4 separate regions of the Homo sapiens genome follow, and regions 1, 3 and 4 are each linked to region 2. The links are contacts of gene promoters, found by promoter capture Hi-C in blood cells and fetal thymus (Javierre and others, 2016). All regions are on one chromosome and are shown on one strand. Each heading gives the region's core, a stretch centred on a gene start or on the middle of the fragment in contact. The rest is flanking DNA. Distances are from core to core; before and after follow the strand shown.

The links. Contacts are between HindIII fragments. The CHiCAGO score rates a contact against its expected background, and 5 or more counts as called.
Region 1: a contact is called between a fragment that was not itself captured here and the fragment with the promoter of ACO2 in region 2, in 1 of 17 cell types (fetal thymus). The highest score is 5.4, in fetal thymus.
Region 3: a contact is called between a fragment that was not itself captured here and the fragment with the promoter of ACO2 in region 2, in 2 of 17 cell types (naive CD4 T cells and naive CD8 T cells). The highest score is 5.2, in naive CD4 T cells.
Region 4: a fragment that was not itself captured here is called in contact with the fragment with the promoter of ACO2 in region 2 in 3 of 17 cell types (total CD8 T cells, non-activated CD4 T cells and total CD4 T cells); the score reaches 8.8 in total CD8 T cells.

Annotation. Positions count from the first base shown.
Region 1 is chr22:40,953,763-40,957,002 of GRCh38, forward strand. The region is part of intron 2 of RBX1 (ring-box 1); the gene reads left to right. Among named protein-coding and RNA genes, the nearest start is that of RBX1, 4.0 kb to the left of the region's middle. The HindIII fragment of the contact is 7,256 bases long and covers 1-3,240 here.
Region 2 is chr22:41,467,572-41,470,635 of GRCh38, forward strand. ACO2 (aconitase 2) reads left to right here and starts at 1,546. Exons shown (of 18, transcript NM_001098.3): 1 at 1,546-1,611. The coding sequence starts at 1,576. PHF5A (PHD finger protein 5A) reads right to left here and starts at 1,121. Exons shown (of 4, transcript NM_032758.4): 1 at 1,031-1,121; 2 at 553-576; 3 at 1-43. The coding sequence starts at 1,082. RefSeq lists enhancers at 851-1,520, 1,090-1,651, 1,652-2,213. The HindIII fragment of the contact is 1,589 bases long and covers 1,181-2,769 here.
Region 3 is chr22:40,848,921-40,852,070 of GRCh38, forward strand. ST13 (ST13 Hsp70 interacting protein) reads right to left here. Exons shown (of 12, transcript NM_003932.5): 2 at 1,903-1,960. Among named protein-coding and RNA genes, the nearest start is that of ST13, 6.1 kb to the right of the region's middle. The HindIII fragment of the contact is 7,823 bases long and covers 1-3,150 here.
Region 4 is chr22:40,868,396-40,871,444 of GRCh38, forward strand. It overlaps XPNPEP3 (X-prolyl aminopeptidase 3), which reads left to right. Exons shown (of 10, transcript NM_022098.4): 2 at 604-720. Among named protein-coding and RNA genes, the nearest start is that of DNAJB7, 7.8 kb to the left of the region's middle. The HindIII fragment of the contact is 820 bases long and covers 928-1,747 here.

The sequences.
Region 1 (3,240 bases), core at 567-3,066, 510 kb before region 2:
TAGTCTGTTGGTGTGTTTGAAATAGAGTAGTTTTTTTATGATGTCCTGGAGGCATACCCAGCTCTCAGAATAAATCTACTCAATCTAAAGATGGCAGGGACACATTTAGAATTAATTGTGGACGACAGGCACTGTTGATTTTTCCTGCATATCTTCCATCTTGTACCTAGACTCAAAGGTAGAAATAGTGAAAGGAGGAAAATAAACTTTGAGCTAAAATATTCTGAGGCCAAGCGCAGTGGCTCATGCTTGTAATCCCAGCACTTTGGGAGGCCAAGGCGGGCAGATCATTTGAGGCCAGGAGTTGACCAACCTGGCCAACATGGTGAAACCCTGTCTCTACTAAAAATACAAAAATTAGCTGGGCGTACTGGTGCATGTCTGTAATCCCAGCTACTTGGCAGGCTGAGGCAGGAGAATTGCTTGAACCTGGGAGGCAGAGGTGGCAGTGAGCCGAGATCACACCACTGCACTACAACCTGGGCGACACAGCAAGACTCAAAGTCTCAAAAAAAAAAAAAAGTCTATCTGATCTAATTTTTGCTGGTCATTGTTTACAAAGGAAAGAAGCGTTAAGGAGTGAGGATTTTGTATGTTAGGCCCAAACATAATAAAAAGGAAATCATTGCCAACATCTAAATAAATAATTAATTGCACTAAAGAAATTTCATTTAAATCTCCACATATTTTATTACATGTAGTGGTCAGCACATAGTGATCTGATTATAGTCTTTGATGAACTGATTTCCTGTCCTTACAGTAGAAGGGACAAGAATGTTGATCACACCAGGAACAGTTGAGGTTACTTTTTCATCCGGGAACTAAAATGATTTGTTACTGAGGCCAGAAATGGAGGAAAGAAACTTTAAGTTTCTAGAAATGGAATTATAGGAACTTATTTTTCAGATCACTCACCTGCCTTTACAACTTTGTCTTGAGTCACTCCTGCTCACTCTGTTAGTTTACCTGGATGCTTTTTTTTTTTTTTAACTGACCACGGTGGCCAAAGCAGCCATGGCCCCGGCCAGTTTTCCATTTTTTTTCCTTATTCTGAGATGGAGTCGCCCAGGTTGGAGTGCAGTGGCGTGATCTCAGCTCACTGCAACCTCCGCCTCCCGAGTTCAAGTGATTCTCCTGCCTCAGCCTCCTCAATAGCTGGGATTACAGGCACCTGCCACCACACCCAGCTAATTTTTGTATTTTTAGTAGAGACACAGTTTTACCGTGTTGGCCAGGCTGGCCTCGAACTCCTGACCTCGGGTGATCCGCGTGCCTCTGCCTCCCAAAGTGTTGGGATTACAAGCATAAGCCACCATGCCCGGCCTGCTTTTCCATTCTTAAGTGTCCATGCTCTATTTTAGAGCCCTTAAATAGCCTAGTCTTTTTTGCCTAGAATATTCTTCACCTCTTCTCTTCCTTGGTTTTGTCTAACCCAGCACTGTCCAATCTGAATGTAAGCCAGTACAAACACGTATATAATTTTAAATTTTCTTTTTCCTTTTTTTTTTTTTTTGTTTTTTTCAGAGACGGGATCTCGCTTTGTTGCCCAGGCTGGTCTCGAACTGGCTTCAAGTGATCCTCCCACTTTGGCCTTCCAAAATGTTGCGATTATAGGCGTGAGCCACTGTGGCTGGCCTGAAATTTTCTAGTATCCACATTCATAAAGTAAAAAGAAAATAAAAAGGTGAAATTAATGTATTTTATTTAACCTTATATAGTCAAAATAGTTTTACTTCAACATGTAATTGATGTAAAAAAAAAATGAGATATTTTACATTCTGTCTTTGTACTATCTTTGAAATTCTGTGTATTTTACACTTACAGCACATCTGGATTCAGACTAGCCACATTTCAAGTGCTCAGTAGTCACATGTGGTTAATAACTACTTTATTGTGCAATGTAAGACTAACCCATAGTTGAGCTTTAGATCTTATCTTAAACTTGCTCAGATGTTTTCAACTTGAAAAGCACGAATCAAATATTTTCTGTTGGAAAGCAGTCATGGCTTATACTGGTCATGTATTGCCCTTGGCTTCTTTGAGCTTTGACACTGTTTATCTCTTCACACTACAGCCAAGGAAGATCAGCACCTACCATAATGTTTAATATAGATGCCGTGAACCCATCACAGAAAAACATATGCAGGGTTTCAAATGTGTTTGGGTGGGGTCTTTGATTACATGCTTGCCAGTTTCTCGGCCTTGCATTTTCACAAGGAGTTATACCCAGAGAAAATTTTACTTTCTTGGGGCTCTGTTTTGAAAATAGTTAATGATTTTTAATGATTTTATATAACCCTGATTTTTTTTTCTCTATATTTAAGTCAGTGTATATGTGTCTCTGGATATGAGAGAATGTACTTCTTAAAAGGACCACAGAAGACAAAGGCGATCTATATTGTCTTCTCTTAGAGTGAAATGCTTGAGACATCATATTAGGCTTTCAGTGGGATACCTGTTTTGTTTCATAATATATTTTGAATGTCAGATGAAGTAGGATATTGAAATCCTATAACAAAAACTTATGAAAGTATTTTCTAAGTCCTATCTTTTATTTATCCAATGAATATATCCTGAGCATCCTGGTAGGCACCAGGATAAAACAATGAGTGAGATCGGGCAGGTCTTTACCTTTTTTTTTTTTTTTTTTTTAAAGACAGAGTCTCTGTCGCTCAGGCTGGAGTTCAAGTGATTCTCCTGCGTCAGCCTCCCAAGTAGCTGGGACTACAGGTGTGGGCCACCTCACCCGGCTCATTTTTTGTATTTTTATGAGAGACAGGGTTTCACCATGTTGGCCAGGCTGGTCTCAAACTCCTGACCTCAGGTGATCCATTCGCCTTGGCCTCTCAAACCGCTGGGATTACAGACATGACCCATTCAAACTCCTGGCCTCAAAAAAACCACCCCCCTTGGCCTCCCAAAGTGCCGGGATTATAGGTGTGAGCCACCATGTCCGACCTCAAGTCTTTACCTTTAAGAAACACACTCTTAGGCCAGGCGTGGTGGCTTACACCTGTAATCCCAGCACTTTGGGAGGCCAAGGCGGGCAGATCACAAGGTCCAGAGATCGAGACCATCCTGGCTAACAAGGTGAAACCCCGTCTCCACTAAAAATACAAAAAATTAGCTGGGTGCGATGGCGGGCGCCTGTAGTCCCAGCTACTTGAGAGGCTGAGGCAGGAGAATGGCGTGAACCCAGGAGGCGGAGGTTGCAGTGAGCTGAGATCGCGCCATTGCACT
Region 2 (3,064 bases), core at 296-2,795:
CAGGGACGCACATAGGAGTCACAAATCACACACTTGCCATCACCTGTAAGGAAGAGAATGGAGTCATGCTCACAAGTTCTTCAGTCCTCTGCTATCTCCTGCCATGGGGAAATATACTAGTCTCCTGGGAAATACACTAGTCTCCTTTTGACAGTGACTTTAGGGCCCTCCTCTTGGCATCACAAAACTTGGTTTCCCCAGTGTCCATCTCAAGCCCCTCAACACATACAAAAGTTTACCAATTAACATATGTGAAGAGCTTAGAAAAGCACCTCGGAGATGATAAGCCTGTATAATTGCTGGCAAAGTGCTGTGTGTTGGGGAGGGGTCATGCTACTCTGGCGATTCTTCCCGTTGAAAACTAGAGAGATACAGCGTTAAATGTGCAAGCGGCAGTGGGGAGTTAGAGGGGCCTTTGGCTAAAGTGCAGCATTCAGTGTTCACATACTTCCAGGCACATCTACTCAAAGCCCTCTTTGTGGCACTTTTGCTGGTTCCACAGAAAACTGGGAGTGGGAAGGGTGGGTTGTTGGGACGGTGTGTTCCACTCACATTTTTCACACAGTCTTCCGATGGCTGCAAGATGAAAGATGGTAAAAAGTACAATTAGAATAAAGGTTTTGAGAAAGAGGAGAAGTACATCCTCGAGCTGGGGGTAGGGACATGAGTAAGGACTGCAGTGAGTGAGACCTGCGGATAGCCATTTTATCATTACAAATTTCCATATGAACCAAACCTACATCCAAGCACCCTCCTGAATCTCCTCCAACGCCCTGGGCAAGCTCAGAGTTTCTCTGGACCTGGTTCAGACCCCACCCCCCGATACCTGCCTGGGGCTCCCAGCACGCGCACCCCCGCCCTCTTCTCATCAGAGGCCACAAACCTGCGCGCTCCTACAACACCCCGCGCCTGAGAGGCGGGAAACGTGGCGCCTGCGAGGCAAGCCCCTAAGGAAGAGACGGGAACCCCCGACCCCCCAGCTCCTAATACCACCCCTGCCCAGACAGCCAGGGGTAGGGCGCAGTCTCACCAACACCAGCCTGCTTGCGGCAAAAGATCAAATCAGGATGATGTTTAGCCATAGCTCCTAACTAAGCCGGCCACCGGAAGCTTCGGGAACTTCCGTCCGACCTTTAACCCCCATTGTTCCTGCCTCCACGTCGCTGTGATTGGTTCTCTAAGCTTCCGTCAGTTTACAATCCTTGCACCAGGCCCGTCTTGCTCTCGCGCGAGTTTTTGTCGCTGCTGGGCGGCCAGGTCCTGGCAGGTGCATGAAACTCTTAAAAACTCTCCCAGATTTGGATGGCGGAGATAACTAAAATTTGTTCTTGGGTAAAACATCTTTGTGCTTGGTATCTATTTCTGCAAGTGTCTTTGGGCAGTCCGATTTCCTCTTGCGTGTCTGTTCGTTGCACGTGAGCTCCGCCCATTGCGTTCACAGGGTTCTGGCGCCTCTAGGGAGGCCTCGCCTTCACCGTGACGCCCCACTCTTCCGGGCACGCCCCTGCCCAAAGGCTTTAAAGGCGCCGTGTGGGACGTCACTTTAATGCGACCTCATCTTTGTCAGTGCACAAAATGGCGCCCTACAGCCTACTGGTGACTCGGCTGCAGGTGAGCGAGCTCAGGGACCTCTGGGTTCACGGGGGCGGGGTGCCTCCTACTGTGCCGGCGGCTGTGGGCGAGGCAGGGCGAGGCGGGCCCAACCTGGGGCCAACTTCTCGTGTACCTGTCCCGGTTGTGGGCCCGGCACCCGTGCCCGCTTCTCTGGTGCCCTAGGTCAAGGCGTCCCCGGCACAGTCAGCTTTCCTGGCCCTGTCCCTGCCTCGCAAGAAGCGTGGGCCCAAGCAGCGGCGGCCGGGTGAAGAGCGGAGGCACCTCTTTCTTCTTTTTGAGGACAGCATTGCCTGCTCCCGTGGGGTGTGTTTCCATTCCTCAAGGTGAGGACAAGGTGACTAGGGGGCGCGGTCGTTGTTGAGTCTTCTAGGCCCAGTTCCTGAGGCCTCACTTCCCATCTCTTAGCAACAGAGGCATGACAGCATCTACGGTTGCCAGGCCTGGAGTCTGGAGAAGAAACTAGGACCCTGTACCACCTTTTGAGGACCCTGCGGAACGTGGAATGTCGGGGAGGGGGGCGGTCTTCTGGGCCCATACGTAGTAAATAATATAATAATAGTCTCTCACCTTTGCACAAGATTTGAGGCCTGTTTTAATTCTTCATAATATTATTTGATTCCTGTAATCGTAGGAATGAGGTGGTTTTTCTCATTTGATAGATGATAAAGCTGGTAGAAAGTAGGTGAAAGTTCTGATTCTCAAGAGTGTCACCGAAGTGCTGTGGCAGAAGCATGGGCCCTACCACCACTCAGTTCTTGTTTATGTCAGCCTGCCCTCACAGAACTTTATGAACCACGGTGCAATTATTTCTGTTTGTCAGAATGCAGTACGAATATTTTGAGCCTCACAATAAGTTGCTTGTCAAATATGGGAGGATAAGGAGACTCCAGTTTGACCTTGACTCCCCTGTTAGGAGCTATCTAGAAAGCTGACTGACTGCCAGATGATTTTTTCACTTCTAACTTGACAGCCCTGGGAAGGTGTTATACTCAGAGGTTCAATGTCAAATGTGTACTTTGTTAATAAAAATCAAGCAAGCATCTGTAGACATTCTCTGTCAACCTTTCACATTTAACTTTGTGAATTCCTTTTGGATCAAGTGGCGCAACTTTGATAATAGAATTTTACGAGTTGTTATGCGTTGTACTCTCAGGAAGCTTGTGGTACTTGAACTTATTTTTCATCACATTGCTTAAATTTAAACTTGAACTTATTTTTCATCACATTGCTTAAATTGAAACCATATGGTTTAAAGTAAAATCATCATTTATCTGAAAGAAAATATTTCTGATCTCAATTCCGGGCTAAGGGAAAGGATTTGCACCTAATTATCTCTTTACATCTTTTTTTTTTTTTTTTTTTTTTTTTTTTTTTTTTGAGACAGTCTTGCTCTGTCACCCAGGCTGGAGTGCAATGGCGCAATCTTGGCTGACTGCAACTCTGCCTCCTG
Region 3 (3,150 bases), core at 244-2,743, 620 kb before region 2:
AACAATGAAAATTCAAAGAATTTAAAAGTGCACGACATATAGAAAGCAACACTTTCTTCCCATCCTATAAATAACCAGTGTGGTTTCTTGTATATCCCATTGCAGGATAGTCTCTCTATATATGAAACAACTCTATCCTTTGCCTTTTGCATTTAACAACGCTGTGTATCTTGTAAATTATATACCATTATCAGCCTACCTTCATCTATTCACTCAACCATATATTGTTAACCATTTTTAGGTTGCTTCCCTGTTACTTAAAAAATTAGAACCAAGGCAGGGCGCAGTGGCTCATGCCTGTAATTCCAGCACTTTGGGAGTCCGAGGTGGGTGGATCACGAGGTCAGGAGATTGAGACCATCCTGGCTAACATGGTGAAACCCCTTCTCCACTAAAAACACAAAAAAATTAGCCGGACGTGGTGGTGGGCACCTGTAGTCCCAGCTACTCAGGAAGCTGAGGCAGGAGAAGGGCGTGAACCTGGGAGGCAGAGCTTGCAATGAGCCAAGAGATCGCACCACTGCACTCCAGCCTGGGCAACAGAGTGAGACTCTGTCTCAAAAAAAAAAAAAAAAAAAAAAAAATTAGAACCAAAAACCTACCTTGTCACAAAATATTTGTTGAGTCCCTATAAAATGTGCAAAGTCTAGGTATTCTAGAATATATTGAAAAGAAAAGACAAGCCATAATTCTAGTTTAGAATGTTTTTCTTACAAAAAATTTTCAGCTGACACATAGGTTAAATATAATTTTGCCTTCATACACATTTGCCAAATAGCAAAATATCTAGGGCTCAGAAAATACCACTCTGATAAATGGTCCTTTTAAAAAAAAGGTAACTACTTTTTGGGCTTTTGCTTACCTTTTCGCATTCTCCTTCTTAATAGACATAACTTCCACTTTAAGATCCAAATAGATAACAATGTTTAAGTTTCTAAATAATAAAACAGCTATTTTCTTGTCGATTTAAGACAGCTAATCAGAAAATTTGCAAAAAAAAAAAAAGCCTTTTAGATATGAAGGCAGAAGAGAGAAATAAAAAATTATGAAGAAAGCATTCTGGGCCAGGCATGGTGGCTCACGCCTTAGTCCCAGCACCTTGGGAGGCTGAGAGATCAGTTGAGGTCAGGAGTTCGAGACCCACCTGGCCAACATGGCGAAACCCCATTTCTACTAAAAATAGAAAAATTAGCCAGGCATGGTGGGATGCACCTGTAATCCCAGATACTCGGGAGACTGAAACAGGAGAATCGCTTGAAGCCAGTAGGCTGAGGTTGCAGTGAGCCGAGATTGTACCAGTGCACTCAGACCTGGGTGACACAGTGAGACTTTGTCTCAGGAAAGAAAAAACAAACAAATAAAAGAAAACATTCTTAAACATGTATGTTCCCCTTCATCTGTCTCTCAACTTCAGCTACTGGTAACCTTCTCCTAATCTTACACGTCCTTTAAGCAAATATGCTAACCCAACACCATGATTCACACTCACAAATATCACTCAGGTAGTAGAGCAAAAAAATTAAATTACTGACCTGGGATACTTCATTTACTCTGCAAATAATAAATAAAGTACCTACAATGCATATGACACACTGTAAGGCAATGATGAAGACTACGGATGCACACCATCACGGAGCTTACCACTTACAGGCCATACATGTAACTTTTATTGTCATGTATTCTAAAACAGTGAACATCCAACCCTAAATTCTCAGTTCTAAATCAGAATCCAGAGAATTCGGGTCTACAAAGTTATAAAGATAAAGAGGTCTTAAAAGGTCTTATTTCCAAGTGATCTTGGGGAAATCAGGAGTGATAACTGGAGAGCAGCAGTTTAAAAACAACCCCTAAGAAATCTTATAGTACTTTATCACAAAACATACAAATGAAATTAAAACTTACCTTGGTATTTTCTTCTGATTTAGCTTTCTGAGTAGCAGGTGGTACTTTACCACCCATGCTTGAAGAAGATGAGAAAAAAGATATTTGTTTAGAAAATTAAAATTCACTGTCACGCAACGTATTTACACCTAAAAAATAACGTTAGACATTTAGATGACTACCTTTTCAAAATTTAAAAGTAAACTCTCAATTAATCTGAATGCTGTGGTATTATTATGGTTAAATTTTTTCCAGCTTAAAATTTATTTTAAGGCTACTGGCTAATGAACCCCTTTCTTTGCCTCAATGAGTCAAATAAACATAATGTATAGCTTCTCTGTGCCTCTTCCCAGAGGAAAAGAGGCAGATATGTCAACATGCAATGACAAAATCATTTGCACAAGCTGTTAACTTAGAATTCAACTCAGTAGGTATATCTGAATCCTAAATTTGAAACTTGAAATAAGAGTTCAATTAAATTCAAATATGCAGTTTATGAAGTAACTATACCGTCATGATATAATTCAAAATGTTTGTGTCCTGTGACTGAGACCTATGAGAATTTTTCTTGCTTATATTTGCATGCCCATCACATTATAGATTTTCTCCTTATACACCCCTCCCAACCTCATCCATTAATACTTCCTCCTGACCCTACAAACTCTTCTTTCCCAAATAGTTCAGGGCAACACAATTCATTATAAGCAAATAACTAGAAGAGAAAAATTACAAAGAATTAGCGTTACATGCTCCATTTGGTGCAGACCCTATAGTATATGGGCTACCTGCAACAATCCAGTGACTAAAATGGTTGATAGACTTAAGAGCACTCCACAACAGTTGGAAGCAACGTAGACATTATTAAAATTTGCCTTAAAAACAAACAACAAAAGCCATTAACTATGTAAAACAAGGGGATATATTAACTTTGAAAACAGAAAGGGTTCTTTTTTTTTTTTTTTGAGATGGAGTCTTGCTCTGTCACCCAGGCTGGAGTGCAGTGGCACAATCTTGGCTCACTGCAACCTCCACCTCCTGGGTTCAAGCGATTCTCCTGCCTCAGCCTCCCAAGTAGCTGGGACTACAGGGTGCATGCCATCACACCCAGCTGATTTTTTGTTTTAGTAGAGACAGGGTTTCACCATGTTAGCCAGAACGGTCTCGATCTCCTGACCTCGTAATCCGCCAGCCTTGGCCTCCCAAAGTGCTGGATTTACAGGCATGAACCACTGCGCCCGGCCTGATTCTTTGTAACTAGAGTTGTCATAT
Region 4 (3,049 bases), core at 88-2,587, 600 kb before region 2:
CTCCTTATTCATACCTTTATTATATATGTGTGCGTGTGTGTGTGTGTGTGTGTGTGTGTATGTGTATAAAATATTATAGCAGACAAATGTCTCTGAGGGTAAAGATCTCATTTCTGTTTTCCTAAGGCCCAACACAGAGTCTGACACAGAGCAAAGGCCATATAAATATTGAAGGAGGGCCAGGTGCAGTGGCTCATGCCTGTAATCCCAACACTTTGGGAGGCCGAGGTGGGCGGATCACTTGAGGTCAAGAGTTCGAGACCAGCCTGGCCAACAGGATTAAACCCCGTCTCTACAAAAATTAGCCAGACATGGTGGCACGCACCTGTAATCCCAGCTATGTAGGAGGCTTGAGGCAGGAGAATCACTTGAACCCAGGAGGTGGAGGTTGCAGTGAGCCGAGATCATGCCACTGACTCCAGCCTGGGTGACAGAGTGAGACTCTGTCTTAAAAAAAAAATAAATGAATATTGAAGGAGAGAAGGAAGGAAATATTAGTTTGCATTTTTCTAAAGCATCTAAACTGCTAGAGATAAGTGTATTTATACCATGAAGACTTTCTAGATCTATTGTTTCATTTCATTCTCTTTATTCTTCATTCAGGATGTATGTTGTGTTCACAGCGAAGGTACTCCCTTCAGCCTGTCCCAGAAAGGAGGATTCCAAACCGATACTTAGGCCAGCCCAGCCCCTTTACACACCCACACCTCCTCAGACCAGGTAAGGCCTTTTAACTGTGCTATCTCCCCATTTAGGTTCTGTCTAGAGCAATGCTATGCAATAGAACTTCTTGCAGTAAGCTCTGGATCTGTGCTGTTCCATAAGGTAGCCACTAACCTCACATGGCCATTTTACACTAATAAGGTTGCTAGTACAGCTGAGGAGCTGAACTTTTTATTTTATTTAATTTTAATTAATTTAAATTTAAGCTTAACTACATGTGGGTACTGGTGCTTTATTGACAATACTAGTCTAGAACAAGGTTTAAATATGATAGACCTTATAATTCAGAATAATTAATGAAAGGTATGTATTTCAGGATGTTTTTAAAGCAAAGTTCTATTTCTAAGTCAGCTTTTAGAATTGTATACTATTGTGAATTACTGTGTTAAAGACATTTTAGAAAACATGTTTTTTCTTGAAATTATCAAATATTTACTTTAAAATTATAACCTATTTCTATATAGATTAAGCAAGATTTCCAGATTTGTTTGTCACAGATTTGAGAGGTAGTATCCCAGTTGATAAAGGTGATGCAAAAAAATGATAAAGGTTTGTTTTACTAATTTTTTTTTCTGCTATAAGATCCCAGCGTTGCTGCCAGAAGATGTCTTATAACTATTGCTCAAATTTAGACCTAAAGGTTTTTTGTTTTGATTTCTTGCACTTAAGGGGTGAACTATGACTAATGAATATCTCAGAGAGGAAGGTAGGGTAAAAGCAAACACATTGTAGAAAAAGCAATCAGGTTTTCAAGGAAAATTAATTGTTCTTTCTGCCATAAGAAATTAAATATGTATTTGCCATATAAGCATATATATTACTAATGGAAATTTACCTTTAGAAATATGTTCCTTTTTCACTATCCCCACTCAGTGAATGATACCAGTATGTTTCTCAGTGAGGGCTTCCTTTTGCTGATTTTTCATCAGACTCGAATTCCTGCTGGGAAGTCGGCTGAAACTAAGGAAATGCAGCTCACCACTGAAACCCACAAGAAATCAGAGTTTTTCAAAGCTGTAAGGTAAGCTTAATAGCAACCCAGTTGGTATTAATTTTAGTATTTATCTACCCTATCAACCTACCTGTAGACTCGAGTTATTTTTTTAAGTAGAATTGATAGTTTTACCAGCTTTGAAAATTACTGATTTCTTGTGGTGAGATATTTTTACATGGTAAGCTGCATTTTCCAGGCCTTAAACCTAGTAATTATATTGTCAAGATAATGGCCTCTGTATCTAGATTTTTTTGCTCTATACCTTAAGTGCATGTTAAGTATAAGTGAATGTAAATAAATATGTACACGTATATGTTCACATACATATGTATGTGAATATCTGGGGGAAAAGGGATGCCTGTCCTAATTTTACTCTCCTAGACGTGGGATTTTGGACATTGGGGTAAGTGAGAAGGGATGGAAGTAGATGGAATTTTAAAACAGAATTATTAGTATTTTAAACCTCAAACTATCAGATGTACCATTAGGTACAGATTTTTCTGCAGACAAAAGTATCAAAAGAATTAATCATTTGTGTTTCTCCTTCCAGAGATGCAAAACTTGTGGAAGTGTTAAAGTGATTGTAGGGTGAAGCAGAGTAAATTTTTAAGAAAAATTAAAAGGGGCCGGGCGCAGTGGCTCATACATGTAATCCCAGAACTTTGGGAGGCCAAGGTGGGTGGATCACCTGAGGCCAGGAGTTTGAGACCAGCCTAACCAATATGGTGAAATCCTGTCTCTACTAAAAATACCCCCCAAAAAAAAAATTAGCCGGGTGTGGTGGCATATGCCTATAATCTCAGCTACTGGGGAGGCTGAGGCAGGAGAATCACCTGAATCTGGGAGGCGGAGGTTGCAGTGAGCCAGAATTGTGCCACTGCACTCCAGCTTGGGGGACAGAGGGAGACTCTGTCTCAAAAAAAAAGGAAAAAAAATTTAAAGGCATGTAATACTTAAAAAGTCTCTTAGGCCAGGTACAGTGGCTCACGCCTATAATCCCAACACTTTGGAAAGACAAGATGAGAGGATCACTTGAGGTTAGGAGTTCGAGACGAGCATAGGCAACATAGCAAGACCCTGTCTCTATAAGAAATAAAAAAAATTAGTGCTCCTGCCTATAGTCTCAGCTACTCGGGGGACTCAGGTGGGAGGATTGCATGAGCCCAGGAGGTCAAGGATGCAGTGAGCTGTGATCATGCCTCTGCACTCCATCTTGGGTGACAGAATGAGACCGTGTCTCTCTCTCTCAAAAAAAGTCTCTTACGCAGTTGGCTTGTTAGTTTAGGATATAAAATTATGTAATGTGCACTTGGTTTCTCCAAAAGGTTTCAT